Linked DNA regions of Homo sapiens: all the other regions are linked to region 2. The links are contacts of gene promoters, found by promoter capture Hi-C in blood cells and fetal thymus (Javierre and others, 2016). All regions are on one chromosome and are shown on one strand. Each heading gives the region's core, a stretch centred on a gene start or on the middle of the fragment in contact. The rest is flanking DNA. Distances are from core to core; before and after follow the strand shown.

Region 1 (3,079 bases), core at 6-2,505, about 14 Mb before region 2:
CATTTTCATTTTCTCGGCATTCATCACAATCTGTAATCATCCAACTTGTTTTATTATTATTATTTTACCGATTTATTGTTTGTTTCCCCCACTCCCTCACCAAGAATATAAATTCAGTGGAGATGAGGACGTGGTGTCGTCACTCACAGCAAAATGGGTGCTTGGTAAATCTTCACTAAGACTGAGTAGTAAATTTGCTCTGAAGAATTAGAGAGCAGATGCAGAGGGAGAAACCAGGAAGCAAGCATGGACAGGCTTCTCTCTGCCCCGAAGGGCTCCCATCTCACCTGGGTACACGCCTTGGGGAAGTCTAGACTCCACCGCCCACAGCTCTGCCTCTTGCTCCAGCAGGGAGATGACATTCGGCTTCGGTAACCAATGTCCTGCTCAGGGAGAGACCCATAGAGTGAGCATTTGTATCCCAGGACCCTTCCTGAGCCTCAGCCCATTCCACCTTTGGTCTTCCAGGTCCCAGATGGCTGGGGACCCCTGAGTGACTTCAGCTGTCATACCCACAGCCCTGGATGTTCCTCAGGGACTCATTCCCCTACTCTCAGTCCCTGACCCTACCACTGGTTCTGGGGTGGACATGTGACCCAAGCCTGGACAATCAGAACTCTGGTTCCTCCCCTGCCCACTGGCATCAATGATCACTGTGAAGAAGACCTGGCAGCCAAACCAGGACAACCCTGGGACACAGATCCTGTCTTTTCTGCTGGTCTTGGTTGCAGGAAAGGCACCCCAGGCAGTTGTCTTGTCACCTCCAGAGGAGCCTCTCTGGAAATGAAGCCAGAAAGAGATTGCTATGGTCTGAATGTTGGTGTCCCCCTAAAATTCAGGCTATGCATAGTGGCTTATGCCTGTAATTCCAGCACTTTGGGAGGCTGAGGTGGGAGGATCACTTTAGCCTAGAAGCTTGAGGGCAGCCTGGGCAACACAGCAAGGACCCGTCTCTACAAAAATTTTAAAAATTAGCTAGGTGTGGTGGTATGCACCTGTAGTCCCAGCTACTTGGAAGACTGAAATGGAAGGTTTACTTGAGCCAGGAGGTTAAGTGTGCAGTAAGTATGACTGTGCCACAGCACTCCACCCTGGGCAAGAGAACAAGACCCTGTTTCTTAAAAATAAAAAAGGTTCAGGCCGGACGCAGTGGCTCACGCCTGTAATCCCAGCACTTTGGGAGGCTAAGGTGGGTGCATCACGAGGTCAGGAGATCGAGACCATCCTGGCTAACACGGTGAAACCCCGTCTCTACTAAATATACAAAAAAAAAAAAAAATTAGCCAGGCGTGGTGGTGGGCACCTGTAGTCCCAGCTACTCAGGAAGATGAGGCAGGAGAATGGTGTGAACCCGGGAGGCAGAGCTTGCAGTGAGCCGAGATCGCACCACTGCACTCCAGCCCGGGTGACACAGCGAGACTCTGTCTCAAAAATAAAAAATTTAAAAACAAATAAATAAATAAATAAATAAATAAGGTTCAAATGTTAGAATGTAATACCTAATCTGATAGTGTTGAGGTGGGGCCTTGGGGAAGTGATTAATTCATGAGGGCTCCACTCATGAATGGGATCAGTGCCCTTATAAAAGAAGCTTGAGATAACTCCCTTGCCCTTATGGCATGTCAGGACACAGGAAGAAAGTGCCATCAGTGAGGAGCAAGCCCTCACCAAACACTGAATTTGCTGACACCTTGATCTTAGGCTTCCCAGCCTCCAGAACCATGAGCAACAAATATCTATTGTTTAAAATTACCCAGTCTAAGGTATTTTAGCAGCCCTAACAGACTAAGACAGAAGTGCAGAGGGAGGTGTTGAAGAAGGAGGGGCTCCTAACAGCTCTACAGAACACCCTGGTCTACCCTGGGATTCTGTAGTCTTCAGACCCAGTATGTTTCCCTCACCTCATGTTTCTCTGCTTCTGTTGATTTCAGGTTGAGTCTGAGACTTGCTAATATTGGTCTTAATTGATATTTCCTACATTAAAACAGTCAGGTTCTTAAAGCCCAAGACATACAGCCCCAGGCATTTGCTTTTAAAGCTCAGTCCTATAAATATTTAACCTGGTAGAATCAGAATCCGTGTCAGGGACAGATCAACAGATAGGACATGGGTGTGGCCTTACCCACAGAGACCAGAAGCCTGAAGGTGTCCAGCATTACATCACGGTACAGGGTCCTCTGGGCAGGCTTCAGCTGCCCCCACTCCTCCTGGCTGAAGCCCACTACCACGTCCTCAAACGTCACTTGCTCCTGAAACATCACACGAGTGTCCTCAGCCAAGCCAACCCTGGCACTGGCTGCTGGTGGGGTAGCTGGTAAATGCCAGCCAGGCTGGGTCGGATGGAGTTCCCTTTGGTCTGGGGTTTTGGGTCAGGTTTTTCTGTGGGGCCTGGATGGGTGCCCTGCTGATGAGGTGGAGGATCTTAGAATCTAAGGCATCATGCCCGTTTCCAATAATTTGTCTCTTGAAATAAGAAATGGAGGGAGCCAGCAATAAAGGAGTGGACCAGCCCAGCATGGTGTCGCATGCCCGTGGTCCCAGCTGCTTAACAGGCTGAGGTGGGAGGATCACTTGAGCACGTAAGTTTGAAGCACAGTGAGCCATGATTGCATCACTGCACTTCAGCCTAGGGGATAAACAAAGTTATAAAGCTAGTAGCAGAAGTCTAAAGACTGAATCTGGGTGGTTTTTTTTTTCCCCCGAGACGGAGTCTCGCTTTGTCGCCCAGGCTAGAGTGCAGTGGCATGATCTTGGCTCACTGCAAGCTCCGCCTCCTGGGTTCACGCCATTCTCCTGCCTCAGCCTCTCGAGTAGCTGGGACTACAGGCGCCCGCCACCCCCCCGGCTAATTTTTTTTTGTATTTTTAGTAGAGACGGGGTTTCACCGTGTTCGCCAGGATGGTCTCGATCTCCTGACCTCGTGATCCGCCCACCTCGGCCTCCCAAAGTGCTGGGATTACAGGTGCGAGCCACCGCGCCCGGCCAAATCTGGGTTTGTTTTTTAATTTTTTAGAGACAGGGTTCCACTGTCATTCAGGCTGGAGTGCAGTGGCACATCATGGCTCACTGCAGCCTCCAA
Region 2 (3,124 bases), core at 68-2,567:
CTATCTTTACATCCTGATTTCATAGGTAATTACAATTTTTGTATCTTCGTATTTCTGTAATTTCTGAATGCTTCACAGTGATACGGTTCTATTAGAATGTGAAATATTTGTAATAAATGAAACAAAATAGTTGACAGTTTTTAAAAACTGAGAAAACTCCAAGGCAATTAGCCTTGCTCTTAAGGTCCTTTAATCAAGTTCTAACTTACTTTCCCCACCTGAGTACAGCTAGTTCCTCTGCCTCAATGAGAATATATCCAAGAGATGATCAACTCGGGCTCTGACCCTGAATGCCTAGGTTCCAACCCAAGTTTCACCTCTTACTACTTGGATGACCAGTACCTCTCCACAGAGTCACGTTGCGGCTTAAACGTATCTAATTGTATAAATCCCCTAGAATTGAAGTTAGCAATTAAGGCTTAATTATTATAAATGCCCATGCCCTATTACACATGCTACAAAGATACAGTCTCTGTAAAAGAAAAATGACAAGTCACACTCACGTGGAGCTTTGCTTTCAGTAGCCAAGAAGTCAGTCCGCGCAGTCCTTTTTCAGGCTGGGGAAGGAGAAAGCTGTGAAACATCCTGACTGGGTCGCTGTCCCTGAGAAAAGTTAAATGCTCCCCTCCCTTCGTGGAAGTGGACGCAACCCTCGCCTGCCTAAAAAGAGGTCAGAAGGCGTCCGGGATCGTCCAGCGTCCTGCAGGGATCAGAGATAAGGGCTGAGGCCCCTGCTGCTGGAGCTCTGACCCCACCGGGGGACCTAACAGGTTTCGTGGGAAAGTAACAAGAAACCACCACTCACCAAGTGACAGGGACTGTTTGTGTTGTGTAACCTATTCCAGTTACCAAAACGATTCTACAAAGATGGTCCTAACGTCCCCATTTTAAAGAACAGCAAGGAGAGGCCCAGGGAGATTAACACGCCAACCTTGCACTGTAAAAAAGTGACTGCGCGCCTGGAGTGCAGGGAGGCGGAGTGGGCGAGCTCAGAGCCCCGGAAACCCTCAAACCAGGCGAGACGCGACCCAACCAAGTCCCAATGCCCCCCGCCTCCCGCCGCGGGACACGAGGGGAGCCCCAGCCCAAGAAGGCTCCGCTGACACAACAAAAGCCGCCGCCCTCGCCCCACCAAACCTCTGCTCTCCCACGAGGCTTCTTTTCCCATAACCGGACCACCAGGTCCCAGCGAGCCCCAATCTTAAGTCCCTGACATTAGGAGGGGCCCGCGAGTCGCGGAACTGGAAGAAACTACCGTGGAATGTGCCGTGACAATCGCCCCCTCTTCCCTGGAGCGGAAGTGCCCGCGACTCCACTGATTGGCGGGACTACATTTCCCAGAATTCCCCGGATCCCCCTGCGTGGGTCAAATGGACCACGACTCCACTGAGCGTTTGGATTACACTCAGAATGCTGAGGGAAAAACGTTCAGAATCTCACCCTTCAGGGAAAAGCGATGGGACTCCGCGGTGCTCCTTGCCTACGATTCCCGCACTGCCCATGGGGAACGAATCCTATATCGCTGAGCGCTTGGTAGGGAATGTGGACTGTGACCCTGAGAGTCGTCCTTCCCTCTGCCTGAGTCCTTGAGCGAAAATATTGAATAGACAGCAATTCCTGAAGTCTAAACGCCTCCCAGGACTACGGAGGATTATTGGAAAGAGAACAAGCGAGGAGATACAATCTTCAAGGACTAAATGGGGAATGACTTTTTAGGGGTCAGTAGATGATTGATGATTGATTACTATAAACTGATAATATGAGGCCAAAACTAAAAGTTGGAAGAGTGAGCAAGTACAATGGTTTGGGAGAGGCAATGAAGAACAAAGAAGGTGCCAGCCCCTACTCCAGACGCTGTGGTACCACTGGTTTGGCAGGAAAAACAATCATCATTTGAGAGGGCCAGTGGGGAAGCCCTGTCCTCATGGAAAAGCTATCTTCTTTCGTTTACACTTTTCATGGTATTATGTCTACTGAAGAGGTAAAAACACCAAATTTCAGAGAAGCTCTTAAATTGCCCAATACTTCAAAGCAAGTATAACTGGTGAAGCGCTTGGCATTGATGTCAGACACCCAATGCCTATGATTTATTTAATGCAGTAGCATTAAGGAGGATCCTATACGTGAAGGAACATATTTTATTTTCTTCCTTTATATTTTTTGGTTAAAATATCGTCATTATAGTTAGCAATTTGGAATCTGGCTTACATTGGTTGATACAAATAAATAATAGAATAAAGCAAAATCAGAAAAAAACCCATCTAAAATCTTTCTTCAAGATAACCAGGGGCTGGGTGCGGTGGCTCACGCCTGTAATCCCAGCACTTTGGGAAGGCCAAGGCGGGCGGACCATGAGGTCAAGAGTTCGAGACCAGCCAGGAGAACATGGTGAAAACCCATATCTACTAAGAATACAAAAATTAGCCGGGCATGGTGGTGCGTGCCTGTAATTCCAGCTACTCGGGAGACTGAGGTAGGAGAATCGCTTGAACCTGAGAGGCAGAGGTTGCAGTGAGCCGAGATCATGCCACTGCACTCCAGCCTGGGCGACAGAGCAAGACTCTGTCACGGAAAAAAAAAAAAAAAAAAAGATAACCAGATTTTTTTCTCCCCATAAACATACATTGGCCTATTGATATGGTTTAGATCTGTGTCCCCACCCAAATCTCATGTTGAAATGTAATCCCCAGTGTTGGAGTTGGGGCCTGGTGGGAGGCGATTGGATCACCGGGGAGGTTTCTAATGGTTTAGCACCATCCCTCTAGTGCTGTTCTCCTGATAGAGTTCTCATGAGATCTGCTTGTTTAAAATTGTGTAGCATCTCACTCCTCGCTCTTTTCCTCCTACTCTGGCCATGTGAAGTGCTGGCTCCCTAGTCGCCTTGCAGCATGGTTGTAAGTTTCCTGAGGCCTCCCCAGAAGCTGAGCTGATGCTGCCATGTTTCCTTTACAGGCTGCAGGACTCTGTGTGAGCCAATGAAACCTCTTTATAAATTACCCAGACTCACGTATTTCTTTATAGCAATGGGGGAATGGACTAATACACTTATCAATCTATATTTTTGTTTTTTAAAAAATGAAGTCTCACATTCTAGATTCATTTTATAAACTAAAAAAATACCTTT
Region 3 (3,418 bases), core at 826-3,325, about 13 Mb before region 2:
AATATGACCTATATATAACGATTTTTCCTGAATCCTGTATTGACTTATCAGAATGGCCTACATATCCTACATATCAGCTGGTTGTAATATATTACAAAGAATCACCAGTGGGAGACACATTTTTCTCAGACTGTAACTGGCCGTTAAATTACTCATTGGCAACATGAGTTGAAAATCATATCCTCACAAACAAATATCTAGATAATACTTATGATGTCTTAGTCCAGTTAGCGTTGCTATAAATGAATACCTGAAGCTGGTAATTTATAAAGAAAAAAATGTTTATTTGGCTCAAAATGTTGATGTGTGGAAAGTTTAAAATTGGGCATCTGCATCTGGTGAGGGTCTTCGGCGGGTTCTATTCATGGTGGAAAACGAAAGAGAGCTATAATGCGAAGGAATCATATTGCAAGAGAGGAGGACAGTGGGTGGGGAGTGTATCAGGCTCTTTTCAACAACCAGCTTTCTTGGGAACTAATAGAGTGAGAATTTACACATCTTCAAGTGGGGGTATTCAGGTAGGATCTACCCTCATGACCAGAACACCTCCTATTAGGCCCCACCTCAAACATTGGAAATTAAATTTCAACATGAGCTTTGGAAGAGACAAACATCCAAACCATAGCATATGATTTCTTACAAATTCTGGCTGTTGGGAAACCAAAAATGGGGAATGAGAATTAAGTTGCTGGCTTATGTTCAAGTAAGGAAAAAATTTATCTCTGCCCCAAATCCATAATCATAAACAAGAAACCACCATTAATTAGAGATAACTTGGGATGTGTACCTATGCTTTAAAAGTCAGCTAGTCAGCAAAAGCTTCACCCCAGTAATTAACCAGAAACTTAGCAAATCATTGTTAGGCCAAGATTCTAAAATTTTTCCAATGGGGGTAAGGCCCAGTACTAAAGATGGTCAATCAGTGGCAGCCCCAGGCTGCTGGCAACAACTAATCCACAAGTGCCTCCTGTCAGTAATCCTGTTTATGAAAGCCAGTTGGTAAATGGTTGCATTTACACTAACATACCTGAAAGTCCATCAGTCTTTCAACTCTGCTGCTTCTGAAAGTCCTCAGTCCCTGAAGGCCAGCCTTCCTAAAAGCTCATATAATAGCAGTTTTGGCTTTGTTTGAGGAGACTGCCTGACCACTACAGCTCTGCCCTGCAGACAAATAGGAATATCACTTTTTTTCCCTTGAGATATCAAAATCTATTTATTCTTTTTTTTTTTTTTGAGACGGAGTCTCACTCTGTCGCTGGGCTGGAGTGCAGTGGTGTGATCTCGGCTCACTGCAACCTCCGCCTCTCCGGTTCAAGTGATTCTCCTGCCTCAGACTCTCAAGTAGCTGGAACTACATATGCACGCCACCACGCCCAGTTAATTTTTTTGTATTTTTAGTAGAGACGGGATTTCACCATGTTGGCCAGGATGGTCTCGATCTCTTGACCTCATGATCCGCCTGCCTCGGCCTCCCAAAGTGCTGGGATTACAGGCATGAGCCACCACGCCTGGCCCCATTTATTCTTAATTGAATATAAATTATTACTTATATTTTAATTATATGAATATAATTTAAAAGTTTGCAAGCTTTCAATGGTTCCATCTGTTTGTAATTAGTTATGAGTTTGGATATGAAATGGTAGACTAACTGACCCAGACATACATTGTAAAATCCAACGTTTTCTCCAGTGTTTTCTTTTTTCTTTCTTTTCTTTTTTTTTTTTAAGATACAGTTTCACTCTGTCACCCAGCTGGAGTGCAGTGGCGCAATCTCGGCTCACTGCAACCTCTGGCTCCCAGGTTCAAGTGATTCTCATGCCTCAGCCTCCCAAGTAGCTGGGATTACAGGCGCGTGGCACCATGCCTGGCTAATTTTTTGTATTTCTATTAGAGATGGGGTTTCGCCATGTTGGCCATACTGGTCTCGAACTCCTGACCTCAAGTGATCTGTCCGCCTAGGCCTCCCAAAGTGCTGCGATTACAGGCATGAGCCACTGTACCCACAATGTTTTTCAACTCTTGTAGAAGTTGCTATTGTCTATATTTTGAGTATATTGAATGCAAAAAATGTCAAAATGCAAGTTTATAATTTATGATGAACTGAGGAGTATTTAAAATTCCCTTTGAAGGTCTTCGACTCTATGTAATTGCCCATTGACTAATGAAAATGGTGGACAGTCAAATATATATTAACTTTGGAAGGTGCATGATTTTCTCAACTAGTTCCAAAGAAAGAGACAAAATAACTTTTTTGTTAAAATCAGATGGAGATGGTAGAATAATTATAATAGAGTTTGTAATGTTTTCTACACTGTTTATCATCATGAGTCTTTAGGCTCAGAATGCTACTGTTGAGTGTGTTTCTCATTAATGAATGTCCAATAGATAAAGGAATGAAATAAGTTGAATATGACAAATGACGAAGGTTTGTCACAACATAAATGGCATCAAGACTGTAACTGCAGGAATTCTGTAAGCAAATTATATAAAACAAGGAATTGTTAAGTAGAAGCAAATTATCAGGGAAAGAGTTATGTCATTAGAACTGTGATCCCCAAGCTTTTTAGTACCAGGGACCGGTTTTGTGGAAGACAATTTTTCCATGGATAAGGGAGAGGGGTTTGGGGGCAGATGGTTTCAGAGGCATTAGATTCTCATAAGGAGCATACAACCTAGATCCCTCTCTTGTGCAGTTCACAGTAGGGTTTGCACCCCTATGAGAATCTAATGCTGCTGCCGATCTGACAGGAGGCGGAGATCAGGCAGCAATGCTCACTCATCTGCCACTCACCCTCTGCTATATGGCCCCATTCCTAACAGGCCATAGTACTCATCTGTGGCCCCAGGGGTTGGGGACCCCTGATTTAGAATGTATTTCAGATAAACAACAAATAATTTTATGATGAGTATGTCACATACAATATTTATCTTTTATCTCACTGCACATATACATAGGGAATTAGAAATAATTCAAATTTAACCAGGTCAAGTATCAGTTACAAAATTTGACAATTCTTTTCATCGTAATTTTTTTCTGAACCTATGCATTATATTGAGCATCCTCATTTTTGAACCTAGTAACTCATTCACAGAATTTCTGCTACCCTTCTTCTTTTTTCTTTTTTTCTTTTTTTTTTTTTGAGACAGAATCTTGCTCTGTCACCCAGGCTGGAGTGCATTGGCGCGATCTCAGCTCACTGCAACCTCTGCCTCCCGGCTTCAAGCGATTCTTCTGCCTCAGCCTCCTGAATAGCTGAGATTATAGGCGCCCGCCACCATGCCCGGCTAATTTTTTTTTTTGCCCTGTCGCCCAGGCTGGAGTGCAATGGCATGATCTCAGCCCACTGCAACCCCCTCTTCCCGGGTTAAAGCAATTCTCCTGCCTCAGCCTCCCGAGTAGCTGTGATTACAGGCACGC
Region 4 (3,265 bases), core at 135-2,634, about 14 Mb before region 2:
CCACCAACCCGAGCCAGGCTCATCCCTGACACAGTAAATCCACTGCAGCCCCCGTGGCGCGCAGCCCAAGCACCACCCAAGGGAGTCCCATGGCTAGGGCTACGTCAGAGTTGCGTGGCTTGGGTCAGAGATGGCTCTTGGGGCAGGCCGACCAGCGTGGGAAAACTCTGTGCCAATCGACTGCTTAAAGAATTGGGGGAAAATAGAAAGTTAAGAAAGAGCTCCGATACACAAGGAAAACTGCAGGTGAGAACCGGCCCTGCCAGCAGGGAGACGTCACTCTCCAGAGGCCACAGAGATGGCAGATACCTCTGTCTCCACAGTGACCCAGATCCAACTAAAAGCATGCAGGAAGACAGGTCTATTGATGCTGAAATCTAGAAAGCAAGGTCCACAGGTGAATGGAGGCATCTTCAGCCCTGAGGGGGCCAGGCTGTGTCTCCTGACGCCTCTGAGGGTGGGCGTAGCAGCCAGCTCCGTGTGGGCAGAGTCCATGTGGTCCTCATTCTCCTCCCTGGGCACAGGGCAGCACAGTCAGACACTGAGACGTGAGGCCACACACAGGGGGGCACCTTCCTGCCTTGGCCCAGCCGCCTCTGGAGCCAGGAGGCCGTGGCAGCCACACCACAGTGTGGATCCAGACAGGATTCTGTGGAGGGATTCTGGGACTCCAGACAGATTGAAGCTCCGTGGAATGATGAAAATTACAGTTTACTTGATTATGGAAGTCTCTGATTTATTCCAGCCAAAGTATTAGATGAGCCACTAAGAATCACCGCAAATCGCTCTCACAGCCCTCACCAGGGTGGCAGTGCAGCAGGAGGACAGGTGCCCACGCCAGTGGCTCTAGCTCTTCACCTCTGCAACCTCCTTCTCCACCTTCTCCTTCTCCACCCTTTCTCCTCTTTTTCCAGTGTTGCTACAATCTCGGCCACCTGACTGGTGGAGACGTGAACATCTTCTTTGTCCACCAGCTCAATCACCTTGATGAGGTGGTCGACGTTGACCTTGCCATCCTTATTTTCATTCAGTGCTGCGGCCAGGCTGGTGAGCTTGCTTTTGGGAATGTGCTTGACTTGCTTCATGGCGTTGATGAGCTCGGCAACACTGATGACGTTCTCCCCCATGGGCACGCCCTTGGCCGGGGCCAGCTTGCTGGCCCACTGGTCCATCTCCAGCTGCGAGATCAAGCCGTTGATCTGCCCGATTATCTGCTGCACCCTTTTTGTCAATCTCTTGCTGGCTTTAGATCCTTCCATGTATTTTTCTTCACCAGTCTTTGAAAGTTCCTTCTTGAGCTCCTGCAAGTCCTCGCTGTAGTCCTGCATGTCCTCCTTCAGCAGCTCCAGCTCCTCCTTCTTCCTGGTGAGTGACTTCTTCTGTTCCTGCAGCTTAGAGCAGGCATTGCTGAGGATGCTGATCTCCTCCTTAGTCATCTCTTCCTCCTTCAAGCCCTCTAGCACGGGGGCAGTGTCCTTCATGGTCTCTGACTGCAGGACAGTGTCAGGCACTTCTGGCTGGGGCTGGGCCCCTGGCCTTTGGGGAGCGCCTTCCACACATTCGGGTTCAACATCCTTCGCCACCTCCGAATGCTTCTGCAGCTCCTTCTCGCGGTGCTCCTACTGCATGGTCGCCTTCTCCTGCAGTGTGGCCTCTAGCTTGGCCTTGTCCACCTGCTTGCCCTCCACCTCGGCCACTTTCACCTGTGCTTCCTTTGCCACAATCTCTGGGAGAGTCTGCAGTGTGGACTTGAGCTGGTCGGCTGGCAAGAGGGTGTCCGGGAGCTACATGGTCCGGGACAGGATGAGCAGCGATGTGGGGATCTCCTGATGCAGGTGCAGGTCCAGCCACTGCTTCAGCTGGCCCCTCAGGTGGTTTTCCCTGACGCCCAGGGCCCGCATGCCTCGTGCCCGACATGCCGCCTGCAGCTCCTTGACGTTCAGGCTGTCCACCCCTTCCTCAGCAAACAGCTTGTCCTCTGCCTTTATGGAGCGCAGCCGCATCGTGAGCTGGAAGCGCAGGAAGCTGTAGCTCCAGCAGCTTGCACAGGGCCACCAGCTGCGGCCGTGTCAGGTTGTCAAGGGTCAGCTCATCCTCAAATAATTTGGAAAAACCCATGATTTCCTCATTGCTGGGCCTCTCCCCCGTCTCCCGGATCTTCTGGAAAAACACAGAGAAGTCTTTGGTGGCACTGCCCTTGGCTGCCTCGTTCTTCAAGGCCATCTCCTGGATGGTGTCCTGGAGGAACTCGGCTAGCTCCAGCTTGACCTGAAGCTCCTTCAGCCTCTTCTCCTTGATGGACTGAGTCTCGGATGTGGATGGCAACATGTTGGGGAAGAGTTTCACAGCAACAGGCAGCAGAAACTCCACGAACGGCACCACCACGAACAGGAGGAACGGCACCAGGCGGAAGAGGTCGGCACAGAACCGGAGCAACTGCCTGCGCGCCTGGCGGGTCAGGGTGTGGCAGTTGAGGATGCGCCAGAGCATGCGTGCTGCGATCTTGGTGTGGATCCGTAGCAGGCGGAAGCCATGGTAGTAGTGCCTCAGCTCGCCCAGCACCCTCTCTGCCCCCGGGACTTCACCACCATCTCTGCGGGGGCGCTGTACACAGGGCCGCCTTCCTCCAGCTTCTTGTTCTTGTCCTTCAAGGACTTGAGGGACTTCTCTACTACCGAGTCATCACCAACAGGGCGCGAAGAGTGCCAGCCGCGGGCAGGAAGGCACCGAGGCCCCAGGACCACAAAACCCACAGAGGTGGAGGTCCATGGCGCTCTCGACACGGTGCGAAGGCACTCGGGCCTCAGAGTCCAACAGCTGAGGTGATCGCCTCTGAAGCACGGGTAGGCAGGGTGGGTGGGAGTGCAGCAGCCAAATGAAACTTTCGGGCAGCTCCTCAACCCCAGGGTGCTGGCAAGCTGAGATGAGCAGGATCCCCCGGACTACCCCGCGGGGCGGTGACCCGAGGCGGCGGCGGGAGGCTGGCGGGCGCCCAGCCGCGGCAGCTCCTCATTAAGATGGACGCCGTGTGTCCGGGCGTGGCGGCCGCTCGGGCCTCCTGCGCTGGCTCCTCCTCCTTCTCCGCGGCGGCCGCGGCTCTTCGCCGTCTCGGTGGCTCCTCAGGCGCCGTCCGTGCGGACGGTTGACGGCAGCGGTTGGCCTCGGACAGGAGGCGCCCAGCTTCGATGTTTTTGGTTTTTAAAAAGGTTTAATCCTTCTTCCGCTTCTTTAAAACAAAGCTTTTATTTCTGCTGCCCCCAGAGCA
Region 5 (3,092 bases), core at 313-2,812, about 12 Mb before region 2:
CACCAGTTAAATTTCTGATACAGTTATATTTTGCTGGATCAAATTACCCATTTTCACTGTCTCTTTCAATATAAGTCAGCTTTGGTAGACAATAGTAAGTGGGTAGACTTGTTGAAAATGGCCTCAAATCCTTCACTAGTGGAGTCTAGTTCCCCCATCCTTGAATGTGGGCTGGCCTTAGGGACCTGCTTGACCAATAGAATCTGGCAGAGGTAATGTTCTGGGACTCTCAGGCTAGATCACAGAAGACTTCCAGCTCCTGCCTCAGCCTCCTGGAACACTTGCTCTGGGAGAAGCCAGTCATCACAACAGGTGTCTCATTATGTCTCATTACTCACATGCCATGCTGTGAGGAAGCCCAAGCAGCCACAAGGAAAATCCATGTGGAAAAAAAAAAGATGCCCACCAAGGCCTCAGCGGTGCCATCCATACCACAGCAAGAGACAGACATGTGAGCAAAGAAGCCAGCAGACTACTCTAGCCCAGCTGCCATCCAACAGCCACCACACAAGAGATGCCAGGCACGAACTGCCCAGCTGAGCCCATCAACCCCAAAATAGTAATAAATTGTAGTTTTTGAGCCATTAAGTTCTGAGATGGTTACTACCCAGCAAAATATAACTGGATCGGAAATTTAACTGATTAATTTATAATTTTCCGGGCTACCAGAAAAGTATGGTTGAATTTTTACCCCCTAAACAGGAATTCTAGATCAATGGTATCTAATACATATTCTAACATATTCTAAATATGTTCATTGATGGTTCCTGGAAACACACAGAGTGATACTTCACCCTTTCATGTATTCATTTGACGAATATTTATTAAGTGCCTGCCATGCACCAGGCACTGGGCATACAACTGTGAATAAGACAGACATGGTATTGGCACCAGGTTTCTTCCATACTAATTCATTAGTAAATAATGATAAAAATAACTAATGTTCATTAAGCACATACTACATGCCAGGTATTGTTCTAAGCCCACTGCACACACCATCTCACTTAATCTTCAAAAGAACCCTACTATGTAGGCACTTTTATGAGCTCATTTCTTTTACAAAGGGGGAGACTGAGGCACAAGAGGTCACACAGATGGGAGTGGCAGCATTTTAAACCTAGTCAGTTCAACTCTCAGCCCCAACATTAGATGGCCTCATCCATGTATAATACCAATCTAGCTGGCATCACAGCCAAGGAGCAGTTTAGTTTGGATCAGACCCTGAGATGGATGGCACGTCTTTTGCCTATAAAGAAGACAGTTGGATAAATATCACAGAGTGTCCCAGCTGGCGCTTCTCTTCCAGACAGATCACAAGCGATCCTGAAGCCACTTCCAGAGATGGTGCTTGACAGTCGACCTCCTCCCTAGTGTGATGAAGGCCTGCACGTCTCACATTATTGCTGGCTGATCACATCATCCATGCATGACTCTGCCACATGAAGATCTTGAGCCATGGCCACAGATTAAATTTCTGATCCAGTTATATTTTGCTGGGTAGCAGCCATCTCAGAACTTAATGGCTCAAAAACAACAATTTATTACTATTTTGGGGTTGATGGGCTCAGCTGGGCAGTTCGTGCCTGGCATCTCTTGTGTGGTGGCAGTTGGATGGCAGCTGGGCTAGAGTAGTCTGCTAGCTTCTTTGTTTACAAGTCTGTCTCTTGAGCTGGTATGGATGGCACAGCTGAGGCCTTGGTGGGCATCTCTTTTTCTCCACATCACTTTTCCTTGTGGCTGCTTGGGCTTCCTCACAGCATGGCATGTGAGTAATGAGAGACCTATTGTGTCCTACAGAGGGACCTGCTGTTCTGAACTGATTCAGTGGTACAACCCCCAAGGCACAAGGAAAGAACGGGAGTTCTGAGCACACAGAGCATATGAGATGTACCTGGGCCTGAAGCCAGCTGTACACATTTCTATTTTGCTCCTATGGGGGTTTCAAAATTGTTTTTAATTGTTACTCACATGAAAAACACATCCACAATTTACCAAGAAAATGAATTTCTAGTTTCTCTTTAAACAGCAGAATATCTGGCCACTCTAGGCTGGAGCTGAGTGGTGGCTGACCCTTTGATGGGGCAAGAAAGCTCCAATTTGCTACAGGCCCCACCTGCCCACTTATTTATGTAAGACACTCAGAATGGTAATGCATAGCATACAGCAGGCACTCAATAAGTGCCAGCTATTGTTACTGACACTCAGAGCTCACTGGCTCTCTCCAGCATACTGAGTGTCCCCACCACCAACTGAATCCCAAGGGGAGGCCTCACCCCCGCTGGCTAGTCCCTCTATGGTCCTAGGGTGCCCTTCTGGGGCTTGGGCTCAAGATAGCCTCCTCTGCCTGAGGGGTCACCTTTGATAGAAAGCAGTTGGGCTGGTGGTTCAGAGTGTAGGCTCAGGAACCACACTCTGCAACGGAATCCTGGCTCTGCCCCTCATGAGCTGTGTTTCCTTGGACAACTGTCTTTCTCTTTCTAAGCCTCATATGAGAGGCAGGCTTCCTGATAACAATGTCCCCCTCCACAGGGTCGTAAGGTTAAATGTGTACAAATATGGTCCAAACACAGTGCCTCGTGTGATGGAGGAAGCTCTCAGTAAATGTCGACTCTTGCTATTATTTAATGTTGATATTTAATATATATCTTATGTACAACTGTAGATCCTTATATGATATTATTTGACCTTTTGGCCCAATGTATCTTTCAGCCAGCCCAGCTAATAATTCCTCCTTTTCTAAAAATTTAAACTACTTGATTGAGGTGTGACTGATATATAAAAAGCTGTGCATATTTAATAATATACATAACTTGATGAGTTTGCAGATGCATATACACCCGTGGAACCATCACCACCATCAAGGCCATAAACGGATCCATTACCTCCAAAAGTTCCCTCTCACACCTATATTTATTTATTTTACAAAATTGTAATACAACAATTCCTTCTGGAAGTCTTCCCTAAGTACACCCACCTAATTCACTCAACTATTCACTGAGCAGTCTCCAGGCACCAAGCCCAGACTGGCACCAGGGTTGTGCTGAGACACAGAACACAGCCTTCCAGGTCTGGGAGCCCATCGTGTTGGGACA
Region 6 (3,028 bases), core at 298-2,797, about 14 Mb before region 2:
AGGGCACATGCCATCATGGACAAAGGAATAGCCATAGTTCCCCATCAACTGGGACTGTGCAGGGTGAGGGTGTGCAGAACAACTCCAGAGCTACAGACCTTTGTATTTGCCATGTTAAAGTTTTTGCCACAGTTAAAGCAGATAAATGCAATGTCATGTACATTCACTTCACCTCTCTCAAACTGTATCTTGGCACCCATCACTCCCCAGGTAGGAACTGGGAGCTGAGAGAAGTGATAGCCTGACGTCCAGGAAAGTGGTTTTTGCAGTCTGGCCAGGGTTTCTGGTCACTAACACACACTTCATGCCTTCACAGTCTTGCTGGCCAACAGAGTGGGCACAGGCAGATGGGGGCATTTAACACAGTTGACAGAGCTGGTATTTTAGAAGGAGCTAGAGATCCAGAACCTTGTAGAATATGGTGTTTGGCACCTTTTTTTTTTGATATGGAGTCTTGCTCTGTCGCCCAAGCTGGAGTGCAGTGGCGCGATTTTGGCTCACGGCAAGCTCCACCTCCTAAATGGCTCACGCCATTCTCCTGCCTCAGCCTCCCGAGTAGCTGGAACTACAGTTGCCCGCCACCACACCCAGCTAATTTTTTTGTATTTTTAGTAGAGACGGGTTTTCACCATGTTAGCCAGGATGGTCTCGATCTCCTGACCTCCTGATCTGCCTGCCTTGGACTCCCAAAGTGCTGGGATTACATGCATGAGCCACCGCACCTGGCCGGCACCTATTTTAAAAAGCTTATTTACCATGTAATTTCAGCATCATCACATGTGAGCTGCTGCTGTTTCTTTGACCTCCCCCATACAAGGAAGTACTCATGAGAGCATTGGCTGGGATGTGAACAGGAGTCCCCATAAAGGAGAGGCCTGGCCAGGTGCAGTGGTGCACACCTATAGTCCTAGCTGCTTGAGAGGCTGAGGCAGGAGGATCTCTTGAGCCCAGGAGGTTGAGTCCATCCAGGGCAACATAGCAAGGCCCCATCTCTAGAAAAGAAGGGTGGCCTGGGCTCACATCACTGAACAGCAGTTTCAGTAGCCACTGCTGCTTCCACATCTGTCCTAGATCCCTCTCTGTTCTCCCTGCCTATGTGAATGTCACCTAACAGGCTCAGTAGTGGGATATGTGACAGGACCAGTACTCCATGACTGGTCGTTCCTCACCCTGACCATGGCACCCTTGCCCTGCCAAAGATTGTACTCCTGGCTGAACGTTAGGCAGTGTACTCCAGGTAGAAACCCCACACAAGGGAGTGGATCAAACCTTCACCAACAGTAGACCATTTATGGTGAAGACCACCTTTTCAGATGTGACATGGCTCACAGTAAGAGCACTTTTCAGTTCATGCACAGCAAAATTCATAAGTGAGAGGACTCAAGGGCCAGGCATTTGTGAAGGCTTTCCAGGGTAACTACCCCCTTCCAGCACTGGAGTACCAGAATAATGAGAAGCTCAAAAGAGAATGTGGAAAGGCCTTCCTTTCTCCATCACCAGAGTACTCATGGCACAGGGAAGCCATGAAGAAGAGCTGAGTGAGAAGATGCTGCCACACAGCTCTAACATCAGATAACACCGGGCAGGCCATGATAGGGAGAAGCCCTTCAAGAGCAGTGGCTATGGGAAGACATGAAGACTTTTGCCCTCTTCAACCACCTAAGAACCCACACTGAAGAGAGATCTTTAAATACTTGGTATGAAGAAAGACCCTCAAGAAGAAATCGATTCTTATCTATAACCAAAAAATTCACAGTAGAGAAAACCCCTGCATCTAAGGAATGTGGGATGGTCTTCAGTCACCTCTCCTATGTGAGAAAGCTATATAAAGTACCTATGGGAAAAAGGCATTACAAATGCAGTGAAAATGGGAAAGCCTTCAGCTATAGACACCCCCTTTTAAGAAAAATCACCAGAGAATTCACAAGAGAGTTATGGGCAACAAATGTGGGAAAGCCACAGCTCCCAGAATCTTAGGCGGCACTGTATTACTGCTATTGCAGAAGCCATCTGTATTAGTTACCTATTGCTGTGTAACAAATTACTCAAAACCTAGTGGCTTAAAACAATAGTCACTATTTCACAGTCTCTATAGGTCAGGAACTTTGGTGCAGCTAGCTGACTCCTCTTTAGGGTTTCTCACAAGGCTAACATCAAGATGTCAGCTGGGGGTGTATCATCTGAAGGCTTGACTAGGGAAGGCTCTGCTTCCAAGCAAACTCATGTAATTGGCAGCATTCAGTTTTTTGTGGGCTGCTGGACTGAGGACCCGTCTGTTGGTCTGAGACCTCCTCCAGTTCTCTGCCACATGGGCCTCTCCAAAATGGCAGCTTGTCAATCAAAGCTTGCAAGCTGATCATGCAGTGGAGAATACCAACAAGTCAGTCATTTGTAACCTAATAACAGAAGTGAGATCCCATCATCTTTGCTAAATTTAGTTAGAAGCAAGTCACTTGGTCCAGCCCACAGTCAAGGGGAGAGCATTACACAAGAGCATGAATACCAGAGGGCAGAGATCATTGGAAGCCATGTCCAAAGCTGCCTGCCATACTGTCTCATCTCTGCCACCTGGCAAGATCTCATGATATGTATCAGTCTCCCTCACTGTGCTAAGGGAAAGCAGACTATACTCCCTTTTCCATTCTCTAGAGAGAATTACATAGGCTTTGAGTACCTTCATTTTCTTTCCCACTGATGGCTTTAGATTTTGGTATGACAATTCTTGCTAAGATCTGAGCTGGTGTCTTCTGGAGCTTTCCAGAAAAGGTTTCTTGGCCGGGCACAGTGGCTCATGCCTATAATCCCAGCACTTTGGGAAGCTGAGGCAGGCAGATCATGAGGTCAGGAGATCGAGACCATCCTGGCTAACATGGTGAAAACCCACCTCTACTAAAAATACAAAAAATTAGCCAGGTGTGGTGGCGGGTGCCTGTAGTCCCAGCTACTTAGGAGGCTGAGGCAGGAGAATGGTGTGAACCTGGGAGGCAGGGTGTGCAGTGAGCCGAGATCGTGCCACTGCACTCCAGCC
Region 7 (3,415 bases), core at 143-2,642, about 13 Mb before region 2:
TAGGGCTTCTCTCCAGTGTGGATGCTGAAGTGGCGAATGAGGTCTGCCCTATTGCTAAAGGCTTTCCCACACTCTTTGCACTCGAAAGGTTTTTCTCCAGTGTGGGCCCTTTTATGCAAGATGAAAGTAGAGCAGTGGGTGAAGGCCTTTCCGCATTCACTACACACATATGGCTTCTCCCCAGTGTGAATCCGCTGGTGCCTTTTGAGGTAGGATCGGTGGTTGAAAGCCTTCCCACACTCGAGGCACTCAAAGGGCTTCTCTCCAGTGTGGATGACATAGTGGTGAATCAGCGCTGCGCTCTCACAGAAGGCCTTCCCACATTCACTGCACTCATAGGGCTTCTCCCCGGTATGAGTCTGCTGGTGCCACATGAGGTATGATCTGTGTTTGAAGACCTTGCCACATTCGAAGCACTCGTAGGGATTCTCACCACTGTGGATGATGTAGTGTCGAATGAAACCTGGCCTATCTCGAAAGGCTTTGCCACACTCTTTGCACACAAAGGGTTTTTCTCCAGTGTGGCTCCTGTTATGCAAGACAAAAGTGGAGCGGTGGGTGAAGGCCTTTCCACATTCACTGCACTTATAAGGCTTCTCTCCACTGTGAATCCGCTGGTGCTGGGTAAGGTGTGACTTCCGATTAAAAGCCTTCCCACACTCCATGCACTTATAGGGCTTCTCCCCAGTGTGGACCATGTGGTGCTGCAGGAGGTATGTACTCTTGCTAAAGGTTTTTCCACACTCTGTGCATTCATAGGGCTTCACTCCAGAGTGAATCCTCTCATGCCGAGCAAGCAGGCGTTTCTTGTTAAACACTTTTTCACATTCATTGCATTTAAAGATATTTTCCTCTTCCTGAATAACTGGATTTTTACCTGATCCATGTGAGTCACAGTCATGGACATCATCTCCTAAGGAGACTCGATCCTGTATAATCCTTGAACACACACTATCAGCTGTCCCTAAACCATCATGTTTGGGGCTCATTTTTCCAGGAAGCTTCTCCTTTTGGGAATCTAACCCTGGTCTCAAGCGTTCTCCCTGCATTTCTGAAAACCCATCCTGATCCTTGGGTTGCCCCAACTGGGAGTCCCCTGAAGCTCCTTGTGTTAGTTGTCCCCAAAAAGAGATTCCTTCAGACAAGGCTAGCTCACAGGTGGTAGGTTCTGTGCTCTTGGGTTTTCCTTTGTCACCTGAAAGAAATCCAACACACAGAAGGGCTTGTTAGTAATGTAAAAAGAGAAGAAACAAACTCACCACTTCAGTAAAAAAAATGAAGTTATAAATGGTGCCTTTATGTCTGTTATATTTTGCCATCTTGAACCCCAGATCTATAATTTGTTTCTTTTATTTTCCTTGGATTCCTGACTCCTTGAAAGGGAGACCAGGCAGAGAGACCAGGTGAGGGGACAGGGCCTAGAGTGGAGATATCGCTTCAATTCCAGACTAAATATTTATATAAAGGTAACTCATTATAGGTACCTAAATAGTTTATCCTAAATAGATGACTCTGGCTGAGGTCTGGTGGCACCAGAAAGACCAACCAGTGAGTAGAAGGTTAGGTCTCTGAGCCACAAGATATCAGCTGAACTCTGGAAAAGGGACGAAGGCTGGAAACTTCACATGGCAATGTGGGCAATGTCTCGATTAACCGTGCTTGTGTAATGAAGCTCAACAAACTCTAAAAACCAGAGCTCCAGTGAGTTTCCTGGGTTTGCAATGCTCTGTGCACATATTTTACACTCAATGCTGGGTGGGTAACAAGTTACTGAGGAAGCTTTGTGTTTGGAACCCCTTCAGCCCCACATCCCGTGTCCTCTTCTAATTTGTATGCTTTGTCTGTAATAAACAAAACTGTGAGTATAATAGGTTTTAGAAAGTGTTGTGAGTCTTTTTAGCAAGTTATGAAACCTAAGGTTGGTTTCAGGAAATCCCTGAATTTGCAGTTGGAATTAAGAGGATTTGGGTAGACTTGACAAAGTCCTGGAGGACTGTGTCCTTATCTTGAGTTTGGCTAATCCTGGGTAGAAAAAGATCAAGGCAGTTTTCCAATAGAAGGTACCCAGTGAAGTAAGTCCCACTTGTCACGAGAGAATGTGAGAAAGACACTATAGCCTTAGGAGAAAGAATATGCAAATGAGCTACAGTGCATGAGAGGGTGGTGGTGATGAGAATCTAGGGAAAGATGAGGCACAGGGGGACTGATTCCCAAGATTCTGACCTAGGTGACAGCTGTGAAGAGCAGTGCCACTCTCAGGACAGAGCTCATAAGGCAGAGGTACCACTCTGGCACAGACATAATGCAAACTGGGAATAAAGAAGAACAGAGAGCTCAGAAATCCCCTTGCACATAGATGGGGCTTTGGTAGATGGCAAAGAGGCACAGCACCTCAGTGATGAGAGACTACTAAGGAATTAGAGCTAGAAAAATTGGCTACCAACACGGGGAATGGAAATATTGTATTCTATCACATTCTATACTCAAAATCAACTTCAGATTGATAAAGACTTGAATGCCAAATGGCAAGTTTTACAACTTACAATAAAATAAACAAGAATACCTTTTTGACATTAGGGTAAAGCAACATTTTTTCCACAAGGTACAAAATCATTAATCACGTAAAAAAAAAACATAAATCAGACTACGCTATGTAAGGAACTCATTGAACAAAAGATACTTTAAAAAGAGTGGAAGGACAAAATTAAAAACTAGAAGAATATACCGGCAGCAAATGTAACTGATAAAAGATAGGTATCTATAATGTACAAAAATAAAATCAAAAAGAGAAAGCCAAAGAAGTTAATTGAAAAAAAGGCATTTATCACCAAATAACATCTCACAGAAGAAAATATAGATTGGCTCAGAATCATGAAAGACACTAAACCACCCTACCAATGAGGAAAATGCAAATCAAGAGCACAACAGATAATATTTTGTGTCCATTTAATCGGCAAAAATTGAGGGGCCTTATAGTTTCAAGTATTAGATAGGATATGGATCAATGGAACCTTCCAAAAATTCCTGAGAGGAATTTTTTGATATAGGCCCTTTAGAAAACAATGAGAATGATCTTGCAAACTAGAACATTTGCATAATCTATAATCCAATTATTTCACTCCAGAAACATCAAAAATGTGTCCCTACACATGTGAAAGATGAACAACATACATAAATGTCCACAGCATCACTGATATAAAAACATGTAAACAATTAAGTGCTCAGACAGTGAATGAATATATGAATACACTGTGAACCATGAACACTGAATTGTTGAATTTTCTTCAAGGGTAAGGAAGTTGAGCATATTTTTATGTTGAGTACAGAAAGGATGAAGTTACAAAACAAGCGGAATATAAGTGAAGAAAAAACGTCCATGAAAACGTATAATATAAACTCTTGAAAAAACTGGCCG

The links. Contacts are between HindIII fragments. The CHiCAGO score rates a contact against its expected background, and 5 or more counts as called.
Region 1: a contact is called between a fragment that was not itself captured here and the fragment with the promoter of ZNF234 in region 2, in 1 of 17 cell types (activated CD4 T cells). The highest score is 7.5, in activated CD4 T cells.
Region 3: a contact is called between a fragment that was not itself captured here and the fragment with the promoter of ZNF234 in region 2, in 1 of 17 cell types (non-activated CD4 T cells). The highest score is 10.3, in non-activated CD4 T cells.
Region 4: a fragment that was not itself captured here is called in contact with the fragment with the promoter of ZNF234 in region 2 in 1 of 17 cell types (total CD4 T cells); the score reaches 8.0 in total CD4 T cells.
Region 5: a fragment that was not itself captured here is called in contact with the fragment with the promoter of ZNF234 in region 2 in 2 of 17 cell types (non-activated CD4 T cells and naive CD8 T cells); the score reaches 11.1 in non-activated CD4 T cells.
Region 6: a contact is called between a fragment that was not itself captured here and the fragment with the promoter of ZNF234 in region 2, in 1 of 17 cell types (total CD8 T cells). The highest score is 6.4, in total CD8 T cells.
Region 7: a contact is called between a fragment that was not itself captured here and the fragment with the promoter of ZNF234 in region 2, in 4 of 17 cell types (non-activated CD4 T cells, total CD8 T cells, naive CD8 T cells and 1 more). The highest score is 10.2, in non-activated CD4 T cells.

The regions. Positions count from the first base shown.
Region 1 is chr19:58,060,750-58,063,828 of GRCh38, reverse strand. It overlaps ZNF135 (zinc finger protein 135), which reads right to left. Exons shown (of 5, transcript NM_001289401.2): 3 at 2,123-2,249; 4 at 288-383. Among named protein-coding and RNA genes, the nearest start is that of ZNF135, 3.0 kb to the right of the region's middle. The HindIII fragment of the contact is 676 bases long and covers 918-1,593 here.
Region 2 is chr19:44,139,747-44,142,870 of GRCh38, reverse strand. It overlaps ZNF234 (zinc finger protein 234), which reads right to left and starts at 1,317. Exons shown (of 6, transcript NM_006630.3): 1 at 1,138-1,317; 2 at 504-557. RefSeq lists enhancers at 830-879, 545-1,135, 890-1,289. The HindIII fragment of the contact is 9,485 bases long and covers 1-3,124 here.
Region 3 is chr19:57,384,086-57,387,503 of GRCh38, reverse strand. No RefSeq gene overlaps it. Among named protein-coding and RNA genes, the nearest start is that of ZNF548, 4.1 kb to the left of the region's middle. The HindIII fragment of the contact is 972 bases long and covers 1,590-2,561 here.
Region 4 is chr19:58,044,351-58,047,615 of GRCh38, reverse strand. The region is part of intron 4 of ZSCAN1 (zinc finger and SCAN domain containing 1); the gene reads right to left. It also overlaps the pseudogene LETM1P2. Among named protein-coding and RNA genes, the nearest start is that of ZSCAN1, 12 kb to the right of the region's middle. The HindIII fragment of the contact is 3,714 bases long and covers 1-3,241 here.
Region 5 is chr19:56,603,980-56,607,071 of GRCh38, reverse strand. All of the region lies in intron 2 of ZNF71 (zinc finger protein 71), which reads right to left. The region is part of intron 2 of ZNF71-SMIM17 (ZNF71-SMIM17 readthrough (NMD candidate)); the gene reads right to left. Among named protein-coding and RNA genes, the nearest start is that of ZNF71-SMIM17, 10 kb to the right of the region's middle. The HindIII fragment of the contact is 7,069 bases long and covers 1-3,092 here.
Region 6 is chr19:58,429,410-58,432,437 of GRCh38, reverse strand. It overlaps a transcript of ZNF324B not described here. Among named protein-coding and RNA genes, the nearest start is that of ZNF132, 9.2 kb to the left of the region's middle. The HindIII fragment of the contact is 1,598 bases long and covers 749-2,346 here.
Region 7 is chr19:57,250,853-57,254,267 of GRCh38, reverse strand. ZNF805 (zinc finger protein 805) reads right to left here. Exons shown (of 4, transcript NM_001023563.4): 4 at 1-1,195. Among named protein-coding and RNA genes, the nearest start is that of ZNF805, 12 kb to the right of the region's middle. The HindIII fragment of the contact is 778 bases long and covers 1,004-1,781 here.